Linked DNA regions of Homo sapiens: all the other regions are linked to region 1. Evidence: promoter capture Hi-C in 16 types of primary human blood cells and fetal thymus (Javierre and others, 2016). All regions are on one chromosome and are shown on one strand. The core of a region is centred on a gene start or on the middle of the fragment in contact, and the rest is flanking DNA. Distances in the headings are between cores, read along the strand shown.

Region 1 (2,702 bases), core at 126-2,625:
TGCCAGCCCAGGGAGTGGGAAGGCAAGGACCGAGAATTGGGGAGGGGCCTGGGCTGGACCACGTCCACCAAACATAGGACCGTAGAGAGCCCGCCAAGGGCACAGAGCCAGCCATACCTCCGAACAGGACACTGTTGTACCTCTTCTCCACTGGCATCCCGATGGCGGTGGCAAACCAGTCCACCCCGCCCTGCCAGGAGCCATAGAGGGGGTCCTAGGGGATGAGGAATCACGATAAGGGCTGGGGAGGTCTGATGGGCCTGGGGGGCAGGGGGCACTGTGGGCCGCAGGGCAAGGACTCACGTGGGCACGGCCGTGGCTCTCCAACAGCCCGGGCAGCAGGGGCAGCAGCAGCGTGAAGGCCAGGAGGTCCAGCAGGAGGCCGAGAAAGACAACGGTGACCACGCGGCGCTCCGGCGGCTGCTGGTGGATGGGTGGGCGCGGGGTGCAGCCTCCACCCCCTCCCCATCCCATGGTGGGCTGCTCTGACCTGGCCTGGGTGGGGTGCGGCGGGTCGGGTTAGCGGGGAAGCCGAGTCCTCCGGGGCCTGGCATACCCCCACACCCGACAGCCGGCGAGCACCCTAAAGGGGCTGATGGCAGGGGCTCTGGCCTACGGACGCAGGGGCCGTTCTGGCCTGCGCGATGCCCCCGCCCCGAACCCAGGCAGCAGGAAACGCAGGCTTCGGGGATTGCACAAAAAATAGCCGCAAAGGCAACGGTCCTGAGAGACCAGGGTGAGCACATCGCGGACCTGGCCCCACCCCACCCCACGGCCGCGCCTCCCACGCCCTCGTAACAGCGAGAGAAAACTTGAAGCCGCGGGGAACCCGGATCCCGATCCCGATCCCGATCCCGATCCCAACCCCAACCCCAGCCCCGGCCCGCGCCCCGCGATTCCGGCCCCTGGCCCGGACTCGGTCTCCCTGGCGGGGGCCATGGGGTGCACACCGGACGCAGGAGCACCCCCAACCCCGCGCGCCTCCCACTCCGCCATCCCGCGTGCGTCCCGGTCCCGCCCCCACCCCGCGCGCCCCCGGTCCCGCCCCCCACCCTGCGCGTCCCCGGTCCCGTCCCCCACCCTGCGCGCCCTCTAACCCCCACGCCGCGCGCCTCCCACCGCCCCCACCCCGCGCGCCCCTGGTCCAGCCCCACACCCCGCGCGCCCCCTACTCCCCTACCCTGCGCACCTCTCACCCGCCCCACCCCCGCGTACCCCGGGTCCCGTCTCCTCCCCCACCCCGCGCGTCCCCTGTCCCACCCCCAACCCGAGCGCCCCCTACGCCCCCCACCCCGGGCGCCCCCGGTCCCGCCCCGCACCTGCCGCGGCTGCGCGCTCGGGACGGACGGTCGCACAGACGCGGAACAGGGCACCAGGCACGCCGCCAGGGGCGGGACGGCCACGCCCGGCCACGCCACGCCCCGGAAGTGACGTACATCTCTGCACGTTCTCTTCCGGCCGGAGTCAGTGGCGGGGTTCTCGCCGGTCCTGCGGGTCGCTGCTTGGCTGTGGGTTAGCAGCACCCTGAGCGGAGCGGAAGAGCTGCCCGCCGCCGCGTAACCCCGAGGCCGAGACTCCTGGCCTGGCCTCCTTGGGCCCACGACGCCTGCCCCGCGGAGCGGACCCATGGGCCTGAGGTTTGTGTGCGGGGCCTCAGGCGAGCGCTGGCGCAGCCTGTCCCCCATCGTCTGCGCCCTGCGGGCCTGGCCCTCCCCGTGGAAGGACCGCGGGCTTCGGGGCCCCACGCTGGGGGGCTGACTCCTGCCACACACACAGCGGTGGCCGCGGGCCTGGGGCGGCAGCACAGCCATTCTGCTCGGGCTGCGTGAGCTGACCCCGCTCTCTGTGCACCTACTTTTGCTGCGTTTGGTGCTGAGCCTGAAGTCCCAGGACAGGCGGCTGAGGGGGAAAGATGGTGTGAATTGGGTGGGCAGAGACAACTGAAAGCCACAGGACCCGGTTGGCACCTTTTTGGCCGCCTGCGCCTTTGCCTGCAGCCCCGCTCCCTGGGTCACCCGAAGGAGGAGCTGGCGCTCTTTCCGGGCGCAGAAGCACCCGACCCACGCTGGAGGAAACGGTCCCTCTGGGCAGGAGAAGCTTTGGGCCTGGCTGGAGCACACTCACGGAACCACGCCAACGCCTGGCCTGTAGCCAGCTCCCACCTCCCCTCCCACCTTCTAAAATGCTTGCGGATCTCACGTGGCCGACCCTAACCAGATACACATGGGGAAAGGAATCAGGTGGCACACATACCGCCTTTACTCCATAGAGAACTTCCAATTGTGGGTAAGAACAAAGCCCCACCTCTTCCTAATAGATGCAGTTTTCCACCTGCAGCCAAAAAGACAACCTGTTATTAGCTTTTTTCCCAGAGGACAGGCATCTCTATGAAACTGCCATTGCAAAATTTGCCGACAGTGAGATAACCAGCTCCATTTTGCTTCTAACCTCCATGCCCTCCTTGTTTACTGCTGCACGCAGGTTGAACTGTGGGAGGAACTTAGTTTAAAACAAAGATGATAACAGCCCTTTCCCAAAGGAAACCTTTCCTGGGGATTAGCCTGCTTTTGTGGGACCAACAGATTAGCCACAAGATTAGAAACTACGGTTGAAGAGTCACGCAGCGGGAGGCTACAGGATTCTGACCCTCCCCAAACTGCTCCTGGCGATAACATCACCATCGTAAAGCCTAAGATCAGCAC
Region 2 (2,702 bases), core at 103-2,602, 230 kb before region 1:
ATTTATTACAGCCTCTTCAGAGTTTATGTTCCATATGTGATTCGTTTTTGAAATTATCTTAGTTTTTCTGTATGACTTAATTTTTAGCACTCACTGTAGTCTTAAATTGCCTTCTTTTTGCATTGGCAGCTGGAGGAGAAAGCTCGCCTAGAAGCAGAGGCCAGGGCCCGGGAGCACCTGCACCTCCAGGAGGAGCAGAGGCGGCGGGAGGAGGAGGAGGATGAGGAAGAAGAGGAGGATCGTTTCAAGGAGGAATTTCAGCGGCTTCAGGAGCTTCAGAAGCTAAGAGCTGTAAAAAAGAAGAAGAAGGAGAGGCCAAGTAAAGACTGCCCCAAGTTGGACATGCTCACTAGAAATTTCCAGGCAGCAACAGAGTCTGTTCCTAACTCTGGAAACATCCACAATGGCTCACTAGAGCAAACTGAAGAACCAGAAACCTCTTCTCACTCCCCATCCAGGCATATGAACCACTCAGAGCCCAGGCCAGGGCTAGGGGCTGATGGGGATGCTGCAGACCCCGTCGACACCAGAGACTCCAAATTTCTCCTCCCCAAGGAGGTGAATGGGAAGCAGCATGAGCCACTCTCTTTTTTCTTCGACATCATGCAGCACCATAAAGAAGGAAATGGCAAGCAGAAGCTGAGGCAGACCAGCAAGGCCAGCAGCGAGCCAGCGAGGAGGCCCACAGAGCCCCCCAAGGCCACAGAGGGGCAGTCCAAGCCCCGGGCCCAGACTGAGTCAAAGGCTAAGGTGGTCGACCTCATGTCCATCACAGAGCAGAAAAGAGAGGAGAGAAAAGTCAACAGTAATAACAATAACAAAAAGCAGCTGAACCACATCAAGGACGAAAAGTCAAACCCAACCCCTATGGAGCCCACCTCTCCCGGTGAGCATCAGCAGAACAGCAAGCTGGTGCTGGCAGAGTCCCCTCAGCCAAAGGGCAAGAACAAGAAAAATAAGAAGAAGAAAGGAGACAGAGTCAACAATTCAATTGGTAAATACAGAATAGCGGGAAGGTATTTCTGAGCGATGCCTGGTTTTCCATGTGTGATGTGCTAGTATAGGAAAACACTGGGTTTGGCATGCTCTCGCCATGTGGCCTCCCTCCTGTAGAAAAGAGCGTAGAGGGGCCAGGCATGGTGGCTCACACCTGTAATCCCAGCACTTTGTGAGGCCAGGGTGGGCAGATCACCAGAGGTTAAGAGTTCGAGACCAGCTTGGCCAACATGCTGAAACCCTGTCTCTACTAAAAATAACAAAAAAAAATTAGCTGGGCTTGGTGGTGCACCTGTAATCCTAGCTACTCGGGGAGGCTGAGGCAGGAGAATCGCTTGAACCCAGGAGGCAGAGATTGCAGTGAGCCAAGATCATGCCGTTGCACTCCAGCGTGGGTGACAGAGAGACTCCATCTCAAAAAATACATATAGAGAGAGAGAGGATTTCTACCCCCTCCAGTTCCCCAACTTTAGTTCCCCAACATCAGTATTTCCCATGTTTGCTTCGTTATTCTCTCTCTCCCTCTCTCTCTTATTTTTCTGGACAGAAGGAGAGTCACTTCATACATGATACCCCTTTAACCTAAAATACTTCCATGTATATTTCCTCAAGATAAAGACACTTATAAAACCACAGTACAGTGATCAAAATGAAGAAGTTGACACTGATCCAATGCTATTCTCTAATTGTAGACCTTACTCATGTTTCTCCAATTGTCCTTTTAACATCCTTTATAGCAAAAAAAAAAAAAAAAAGCTCTTGTTGTTTCTCCTGACATGGGATCCAATCCAGGATCCCATGTCGTATCTCTTTAATTTCCTTTCCTTTGGATCGGTTTCTCTGTTTTTCATGACCTTTACTTTTTTGAAGAGTGCAGCGCATTTATTTTTTAGAGGATCCCTTGGTCAGGGTGCATGCCCCATGTCTTCCCAGTCAGGTTCAGATACCATGTTTTGGCGGCAACACCACTGATGTGGCCAGTCCCTGTTGGTATATCCCACCAGGAAGTGGGTGACGGTGTCTGTCCCATCACTGGGGATGGGAACTCTGATCCTGGGTTGAGCTGGTCTGCCCATTTTCACTACGGTCAAGTTAATATTTCTCCTTTGCTAATTAGTAAGTGTCTTATGGGGAAATGAGTATCCTGTTTTTATTGAACATTCACCGACTAGTTGTAGCATCCATTAATGATTCTTGCCGGAAATGTTTATTACTGTGTTGTCATATGGTGATTTTTTTTTTTTTTTGAGATGGAGTTTCGCTCTTGTTGTCCAGGCTGGAGTGCAGTGGCACGATCTCAGCTCACCACAACCTCCGCTTCCCGGGTTCAAGCGATTCTCCTGCCTCAGCCTCTCAAGTAGCTGGGATTACAGGCATGCACCACCACACCCGGCTAATTTTGTGTAGTAGAGATGGGATTTCACCTTGTTGGTCAGGCTGGTCTCAAACTCCCGACCTCAGTTGATCCGCCTGCCTCAGCCTCCCAAAGTGCTGGGATTACAGGCGTGAGCTGCCACCCCTGGCCCAAATGGTGAATTTTCTAATATTATTCTTTCTATATTTGTTACTTGCCATTCAACTGTAGGAAGAGCTTTCCAACCTCATGTGTTTTTTTCATTCACTTAGTTATATCAGGATAGATCCACGAAGTTTTACTTGATGCTATAGATGAGAATCTTTTACGAACACTCTTTATGTTGCTGTTT
Region 3 (2,702 bases), core at 128-2,627, 200 kb before region 1:
GGATGACAAGAGCGAAACTCCTTCTCAAAAAAAAAAAAAAAAAAAAAAAAAAAACCGGTGTGGTGGTACATGCCTGTAGTCCTAGCTACTTGGGAGGCTGAGGCAGAGAATTGCTTGAACCTTGGAGGTGGAGGTTGCAGTGAGCCGAAACTGCCACTGAACTCCAGCCTGGGCAAGAGAGTGAGACCCTGTCTCAAAAAAAAAAGGATTTCACCATGTTGCCCAGGCTGGTCTCGAACTCCTAAGTTGAAGTGATTTGCCCTCCTCAGCCTCCCAAAGTGCTGGGATTACAGGTATGAGCCACCACACCCTGCCTGGGCCTGATAATTTAAGGGCGCTCACAGCTCTCAGATTAAACGTTTCTTTTCTTTCTCAGGACTCCTTCCGCCCACCCATTCCTCCTCCCGAGTCCTTTCCCCTTCTCAAGTGCAGCCTGTAGCAGGGCCTGGAGGGGACCCTTGACACTGTGCCCCTCACCGAGAATCTAAACCCCTGACCCCGCAGTGAGTTTCTGGCAAGAACAGGAGTGTGATGGGCTTTGCCAAGCACCAGCTTGGTTGTGGGCTGTTTCCTTCAGTGACTGTTTGGCTTTTTGTCTTTGCAGGTTCTGCTTGGATTCTGCTAGACAGACCCGACAAAGACTGTCTATCAACTGGTCCAATTTTAGCTTGAAAAAAGCCACCTTTGCTGCCCACTGAATGAGGACTCCCTGGAGAGGGACACGCGAGAGGCAGGCCAGGCTGCACCACCCCAAGAGCCACGCCCCTCGCTGGCGCCCCAGAGCCGTGGTGCTTGCCAAGGGCTGTGCGGAGCTGGTGCTGCCTGAAACCCCAGACCGAGAAGTTGATGCTCGGCCCACGCCGTTAGCTCGTGTGCGTGTAGTCTGTGCGTGAGACTCCTTCGATTGTAGCTCTGTGCTGTCGGATTGGAACAGTAGTTCCCGCCAAGTCCTCCCACCACCGCGGCCTCGGAGGCCTGGGCCGTGGCCAGATAGGAGTTTGCATCATCCACGTGGCTCCGTTGCCTCTGCATTGCGCCCTGTCCTGTCATGTGTCCTCACCGGGGTATCGGCCGTCACTCAGCTCTCCTGTGCCCCTGCGTCTCACCCTAGGCGGGCTGGGCGGGGCAGGCCTCCTTTGTTCTCCACAATCTACTGTCTCCGAGTGTACACGTTGCGCTGTTTGTGTTTGATCCCCCTGACTTGTAGCCAGCTTGTGTAAGATCCCTTGCAGAACGAGAAAGTTAAAAACAAGCCCACCCAGTACTCACACCATCAAGTCTGTTATAGAGTGTACGACTGTATTAACACGGAGGCCTGCCTGGCTACTTTTTTAACATATTGTTAAGTAATATTAAAATCATGTCTTTCTTTTTGAAAGATGGAATACATTAGTACAGCAGGAGACCTCGGCTGCTTCTTTCTGCTGGGGGAGTGGGGGGATAGCGGGAGAGGGCGTGTAGGTGATGTGTCCGCCATGGGGAGCCAGGGCACCACCCCGGAGCAGGTCCCAGGTCTCTCCAGGCAACGGCTCACCCATCCTGGTGCCCCCACCATCCTCTGTGTGCCAGGCAGAGCAGGCAGCAGGAGACAGAAAGCTCCCAAGGAGCTGCATCCTGGTTACTTCTTACTACCTAGAACACTCAGTAGCTCCCACTTCTCCCAGCCTCATGTTCAGCCTGTCTCTGTGTGCCCTATCAGAGTATGACTTCACTCTGAGTGAAGGTGAATAGGGCAGGGCCTGGTTGGGGAGAGGGTAGGGAGAGCCAGCTTCTGGAGGTATTCGGACGATGAGGCCACAGGATTTCCTGGTGGACAGGATGCAGGTAGGAGAAAGAGGTGAAGACCTGCGCTGTGTGCCTGGAGGTGGGACTGGAGACCAGTTCTGGATGGTGAGTCTGGGATGTCCACCGGCCACCCAGGTGAGAGGTCTGGAACTGGGGACTGCTGTTCATGGACAGAGCCTGTGTGAGGGCCCTGCAGGGGTGAGTAGATGGGATGGGGGCCCGAGCTGTGGAACCAGGAAGGCAGAGGAGGGTGAGGAGGCTTCGAGGCAGGTCAGGGGAGACAAGGCCCAGGGCACCCCCACCCAGGCACCGGTTTGCAGGAGAATGAGGTGGGGACAGCAGGTCCTAGAACTCTGGAGATTGCACGAAAGCTGGAAAAGGGTCACCAACCAGGGGAGGTGCAGCACGACGAACTTTCCTCACTTGTTTTTTTTTCCAGGTGTGAGGAAGAGAACGTTCCTTTGTTCGTGGGATGATAGGGCAGAGAGTGAAGCAGGTCAGGCCATGACCACGGCAACAGTAGTGTCCTTGAAACCCCAGTGCAGGCCCCCGGGACTCCAGCCGCTGCCTCTTCTGGCTGCGGTGGTGGCTGGGGAAAGGCCCAGGCCCGGGCCTCGCCCTATGGGGAAGCTGCCTGCCCAGGCCCCCAGTACCTGCCCTGCTCTCCCCATGGACAGCCTTTAACACTGTGCTGAACCATGCCTGTTGCTGAGGGGAACTGCACAGCCCTGAGTGGTGATGGGGAACTCTGGGTGCCCCGACACACTAAGCATCATGCTGGGACCTAGAGACCCTCAGACGCCCACCGCACATGCCCAGTTCTGGGCACTCCCATCACCTCCATGGCAACCCTGCCTGCGGCTTCACAGCTCTGCCCGCTCTGGCCCCTGACCTGCACCTGCTAGCTTTGGCCCTCA
Region 4 (2,702 bases), core at 148-2,647, 190 kb before region 1:
CTCTGCTTCAGTTTCCTCGGATGGAGGATGTGACTACACTTCCTCCAGGCAGCTCTGCCAGGCTCAGCTCCTCCTCCTCATCCTCAGCTGAGGCAGATGAAAGCCAAGTGCCATCTCCCACCTGGGAGCGGGGTCGGCCACAGGCCTGGTGCTGGGCAGTGAGGTGGCTGCCTGCTTTCCTATTACATTTTGCATGTTCCATCATTTTAAAAGAAACCCTTGGATGAGTGAGCTTTGCCCCGTCAGCTGACTCTCGTTACTGAGAACAGAAGTGGGTTCTGGGGCGCCCCCCCACCTCTGTGATCAGGGGCCTGTAGGCGATGCTCCCAGCACACAGAGGTCTTCCCCACACTCTGCTTACACTGTGGCCTACCTGGTCAGGACTTCTCTCCCCCACATTCCTTTGTGCATGCTGTCGTTCATCCAGACACTTGGCCAGATGCTGACACATGTGGGCGGTGGCGGTCAGCGTCCTCCGCAGCTGATGGGTCTCGTTGGCCAAGGAGCGGCACAGGACGTCACTGGCGGCCCGGGCGCGCTCCCCTTCTGCCATGCTCCTCCGTAGCAGGACGACTTCCTTCTCTCGCTCGTGTTGGGGCTGGCTCAGCAGCTGCTGCATCTCCCTCTCTTTTTCTTCTAGTCGCTCAGTCAGCCTCTCAATTTCCTAAGTGGAAGATTTAAAAGCACAGTTTACTGAATTAAAAGAAGCAGTGTCAAGAGCAAATGTTCAGAAAGCAAAAGAAGACCTGGCGTGGATGCCCCATCACCAGACACAAACATACTCACTCAGAAGTTGGGCGTTTGAACTAACAATTACTCACTCAGAAGTTGGGCATTTGAACTATTAACTCTGGAGTTTTTCAGCCTACAATGTTCTGTTCTGAAACTTCATCTCAAATTTTTTTTTTTTTTGAGACAGAGTTTCACTCTGTTGCCCAGGCTGGAGTGCAATGGCACAATCTTGGCTCGCTGCAACCTCCACCTCCCAGGTTCAAGCGATTCTCCCACCTCAGCCTCCTCAGTAGCTGGGATTATAGAGCCCACCACCAAGCCCAGCTAAAAGAATTTTTTTTTTTTTTGAGACGGAGTCTCGCTCTGTCGCTCAGGCTCGAGTGCAGTGGAGCGATCTCAGCTCACTGCAAGCTCCGCCTCAGAGGTTCACACCATTCTCCTGCCTCAGCCTTCCGAGTAGCTGGGACTACAGGCACACGCCACCACGCCCAGCTAATTTTTTGTATTTTTAGTAGAGATGGGGTTTCACCATGTTAGCCAGGATGGTCTCGATCTCCTGACCTCATGATCCGCCTACCTCGGCATCCGCCCACCTCAGCCTCCCAAAGTGCTGGGATTACAGGCGTGAGCCACCACGCCTGGCCCAATTTTTATATTTTTAGTAGAGACGGGGTTTCACCATGTTGGCCAGGCTAATCTCGAATTCCTGACCTTAGATGATCCGCCAGCCTTGGCCTCCCAAAGTACTGGGATTATAGGCGTGAGCCACTGCGCCCAGCAATTTTTTTTTTTTTTTTTTTGAGGCAGGGTCTCACTGTCACCCAGGCTAGAGTGCAGTGGCACAATCATGGCTCACTGCAGCCTCGACCTCCCCAGGCCCAAGCGATTCTCCATCCTAACCTGAGTAGCTGGGACTACAGGCACGTGCCACCGTGCCTGGTTAACTTTTTTGTATTTTGTAGAGACAGGGTTTTGCTGTGATGCTCAGGCTGGTCTTGAACTCCTGGGCTCAAGAGATCCACCCGCCTTGGCTTCCCAAAGTGCTGGGATGACAGGTGTGAGCCACCACGCCCTGCCAAATTCTATTTTCACAAGCAAGTTCATAATTTTAGATTTCATATCATCAAAATGTTTTTTTGAGATGAGGGTTTCGCTATATATAGCCCAAGCTGGTCTTAAACTCCTAGGCTCAAGCAAATCCTCCCACCTCAGCCTCCTGAATAGCTGGGACTACAGGCTCAAGCCACCACACCCAGTTATCATCAAATTATCAAAGTGGCAATTCCAAGCACTTTTTTGATGGGATAGGTAGAAACTCCACTGTGGTGGGTAACCCCAAAAAGATGTCCACAACCAAACCTCCCATTCCCCGGTATCTGGGAATGAAACCTTACTTAGAGATAGGGTCTTTGCAGATGTAATTAGTTAAGGTGGGGACAAAATGGATTAGGACGGGACTGGTGTCCTTGTAAGCAGACAGAAGTCTGGACAGACACACAGAGAGAAGACGACCACGTGACAACAAAGATAGGAGTGACGTCTTGTCTTGTGGATAAAGGCCAAGGAACACCAAGGATTGGTGGCCCCCACAGGAAGCTGAAGAGGCGAGGAAGGGTCCTTCCCTAGAACCTTGAGAGAGAGCCGATGCCTTGGTTTCTGGCTTCTGGCCTCTAGAACTGTGAAAGATTAAATTTCTGTTGCTTGAAGCCCCCCAGTTTGTGTTACTTTGTTACAGCAGCTCTAGGAAATTAACACACCCAACCCCAATTACTTCTTAAAGAATTTAAAAAGGTTCTTAAAATGACAATTTTATTTTGAGATAGGGTCTCGCCCTGTCACCCAGGCTGGAGTACAGTGGTGCCACCATGGTTCACTGTAGCCTCCACCTCCCAGACTCAAGTGATCCTCTTGCCTCAGCACCCTAAGTAGTTGGATTACAAGTGCATGCCACCGTACCTGGCTAATTTCTG
Region 5 (2,702 bases), core at 98-2,597, 130 kb before region 1:
TGTGGCACCCGCTGACAGATGGTGACAGGGTTCCTGGGTAAGCGAGGGGCCCAAGGACCCTCAGTGGTGCACAGAGGAGCCATGATGGGGGCCACGCCTGGGCCCCAGCGTCCTTTGCCCTGACCCAGGAGCTTGTCCAGATAAAACGCCGTAAAGTGCCTGGGCTGAGCCCGAGGTGTGTGCAGGAGCTGCATGGTTTTGTGCGGTCCAAGGGAGGCCGCCAAGACCGCCACGGTACGAAAAGTACCACGGTGATGAGTGAAAGGGACAGGCGGCGCAGGGCTCTCAGGCCACTTACTGCTATACGGTCCCAAGGCCCACCCTGTAGGGCTTACACAGCTGCCTACACAGGGTGCCCATCGTGGTGGCTCCTGACCTCTGCCGTTGGCTCTGGGTGGGAGCAGTGGGGCTGGGTTTCTCTGACTGGCGCCCCTACTGCATGCCACCCCAGCAGGAGCCCCAGGGCCTCGGCATCTCCACTCTGTTCCCTTGTTATCTCGCCCTGGTGCTGGGATCCGGGATAAGCAGGGTGCTGTCCACTTCCAGGGCCTAGGGACCCAGTGCTGGGCCAAGTGCCTATGGCAGAGTGCTTGGGAGCTGTCTGGTTTGGTCCTCAGAGTCCTGTTGCTAATAAGCGTGGAGGGGGAGGACGGAGCAAGGCTCAGGGAGTGAAGTGACTTGCCCCTAGTCTCCAGCTTAAGGGACCAAGGCTGGGACTGGAGCCCAGGCGTGAATGGTGCCCAGGAGCTCATCCCAGGGAAGGTCTGAGATGCTGTCTGCCTCACCTGGGCATGTGGCCTGGACTGGCAGTTCTAACTAAGACCCACCTCTGTCTCTCATGTCAGAAGGTGGGTGCCTTCTCTTACCTGCAACCCCAGGGCCTTTGCACAAGCTATGCTCTGTCTGACTCTATGTAATCCCATGCTTGGCTAACTCATGTGGAAGATTGCTCCCAGGACGCTGGCGGATGTGTCAACGTGTCTGGGTGGAACAGATGTCACAAGGATGTGAGTCAGAGGTGGCTGCCTCCCTAACAGATTGGGAGCCCAGACAGAGGGTGACAGTAGCTTGGATCCCGGGTGCAGGGTGTGGCGTTTGCCTGTAGGTGCTGTGCCTGAGTGCCTCCCCTGTGCCCGATACCATGAGACTTCAGGCCGAGTGGAGTGACACTGTGCAAGAGAGACAGGGTCCGGCTGACCAGCCTCACCATGACTCCAGCCGAGCCCACTGAATAGGTGGGCTACCTTCCACCATTCCCTGGCCTCGGTTTCCTGCTCTCGGTTTCCTCAGCTGCCTGGTGGGTTCCACTGCAACTCTCTGGGGGTCTCCTTCTGTCCCGGCACCGCCTGCTCCTGTTCCTCATCCGAGTCTCTGCGGATGCGTGGACCCCGCCCTCTGTGCAGCCTCAGCACTAAGTCCTGGGTCCAGCAGCTCCGGGACTGCCCCAGTTACTCCTGGGGAAACTGAGGACTGGAGCTCTGCTTCTTTGCCCGAGTTTTCTCTAGGGTGAGCACCAGACCACTCTTTCTTCAAGGGAACCAGCAGCATTGAGCGGGACCCAAAAGGGGGCTGTGGCCTGGGAGAGCTTCCCAACCAGCCTCCCCAGGGGCTCTTGGGATCAGTTTAAAACAGAAGCAGCTCCTAACTCCTCAAGGGTGGGCTGGAGCCCCTGCTTCCCCAGGCCTTCCTGTCCTGCTGAGCTGGGCCCTGCGGTAGCTTCCTCCCTGTACCCCACATGGCGTGGCCCACCCTGTGTCCCCTGGCCTCCTACCCAGAGCCCTGCCCCCTCCACAGAGGCCAGGGCCCACCCCCACTGTCCTTAAGGTTGGTGGGCTTCCTTCTGAGAGTGGGCCTGGGGTTTCTCCTCTCCTTCTTACCCACCCCAGAGCCAGGCTCAGCAGGAAATGCCTGGTAGGGGCCCTGCCAGGGCCATAAGGCTTTCAGGGCACCCTCAGGTTGTGTTGTAGGGGTGGGCCAGGTGGCCCCAGGCTCTGGGTGACACTAGCCACGCTGGCTGGGTAGCCAAGCGTTGCAGCTCACTCAGCCTCGAGGTCCTAATCGGGAGAACAAAACGAGCAGTTGGCGATGGAGCGGGCACAGAGCTGGCGCACTCAGAACACAGTGGACATTTCCTTGGGGGCTCCCTGCCCCTCCCTTGGTCCAGCAGCCTAGCCCTCCTATCACAAGAGGTGACTGTGGGCAGGGAAGCACCCCCAACCTTCACACCCACTGTGCCCGTGGCCCAGGCGTCCCACGCATCCCAGGAGGGTCTGGTTGGCGGGAGCCCTCTGCTTCTGCTTCCTCTAGATGAGGAAGGTGCCCGGCAGATTTCCTACCTAAGCACACCCCCTGGGCCCGGAGGGTCAGCAGCCAGGCTGGTGTGGGCGTGGGGTGTCCCGGCCACAGCTGATCTGCTCAGTGACTGCTGCTGCCCTTGCCTATCGATGAGGATGCTGGGGCCGGGAGGTCACCCTGGAGGCCCAGGCTGCGCTTGGTGGGTGCAGAGCCCCTGGAGTGCCCCCCTCCTGCAGCCAGGGGTCCCCCGAGATGGAAGAAGTGGGGTGCCTGGGGCTGGCCAGATGGTGTAATTCAGCACATGAGCCCATGAGCTAGGCCCCACGGAGAGTAGGGGTTCCAGCCAGCTGGGGTGTGGACGAGGTCTGTTCATGCTGCAGGAGGCACCTGGTGCCAGTGTCACACTG

The links. The method cuts DNA at HindIII sites, captures the fragments that hold promoters and counts their contacts. A CHiCAGO score of 5 or more calls a contact.
Region 2: a fragment that was not itself captured here is called in contact with the fragment with the promoter of SLC75A1 in region 1 in 1 of 17 cell types (total B cells); the score reaches 6.1 in total B cells.
Region 3: a contact is called between a fragment that was not itself captured here and the fragment with the promoter of SLC75A1 in region 1, in 2 of 17 cell types (endothelial precursors and total B cells). The highest score is 5.6, in endothelial precursors.
Region 4: a fragment that was not itself captured here is called in contact with the fragment with the promoter of SLC75A1 in region 1 in 4 of 17 cell types (activated CD4 T cells, endothelial precursors, neutrophils and 1 more); the score reaches 7.0 in activated CD4 T cells.
Region 5: a contact is called between a fragment that was not itself captured here and the fragment with the promoter of SLC75A1 in region 1, in 3 of 17 cell types (non-activated CD4 T cells, endothelial precursors and activated CD4 T cells). The highest score is 5.4, in non-activated CD4 T cells.

The regions. Positions count from the first base shown.
Region 1 is chr4:2,933,450-2,936,151 of GRCh38, forward strand. SLC75A1 (solute carrier family 75 member 1) reads right to left here and starts at 1,376. Exons shown (of 13, transcript NM_001146069.2): 1 at 1,320-1,376; 2 at 304-495; 3 at 118-214. The coding sequence starts at 474. NOP14-AS1 (NOP14 antisense RNA 1) reads left to right here and starts at 2,097. Exons shown (of 4, transcript NR_015453.2): 1 at 2,097-2,702. RefSeq lists enhancers at 89-956, 2,214-2,702 and silencers at 797-1,016, 1,246-1,555, 1,716-1,825. The HindIII fragment of the contact is 5,918 bases long and covers 1-2,095 here.
Region 2 is chr4:2,699,551-2,702,252 of GRCh38, forward strand. FAM193A (family with sequence similarity 193 member A) reads left to right here. Exons shown (of 21, transcript NM_001366318.2): 19 at 130-994. Among named protein-coding and RNA genes, the nearest start is that of TNIP2, 55 kb to the right of the region's middle. The HindIII fragment of the contact is 8,988 bases long and covers 1-2,702 here.
Region 3 is chr4:2,731,171-2,733,872 of GRCh38, forward strand. FAM193A (family with sequence similarity 193 member A) reads left to right here. Exons shown (of 21, transcript NM_001366318.2): 21 at 605-1,403. The coding sequence ends at 698. Among named protein-coding and RNA genes, the nearest start is that of TNIP2, 24 kb to the right of the region's middle. The HindIII fragment of the contact is 3,689 bases long and covers 1-2,702 here.
Region 4 is chr4:2,747,282-2,749,983 of GRCh38, forward strand. It overlaps TNIP2 (TNFAIP3 interacting protein 2), which reads right to left. Exons shown (of 6, transcript NM_024309.4): 2 at 374-664. Among named protein-coding and RNA genes, the nearest start is that of TNIP2, 7.7 kb to the right of the region's middle. RefSeq lists an enhancer at 507-556. The HindIII fragment of the contact is 3,160 bases long and covers 1-2,702 here.
Region 5 is chr4:2,802,855-2,805,556 of GRCh38, forward strand. All of the region lies in intron 1 of SH3BP2 (SH3 domain binding protein 2), which reads left to right. Among named protein-coding and RNA genes, the nearest start is that of SH3BP2, 11 kb to the left of the region's middle. The HindIII fragment of the contact is 8,498 bases long and covers 1-2,702 here.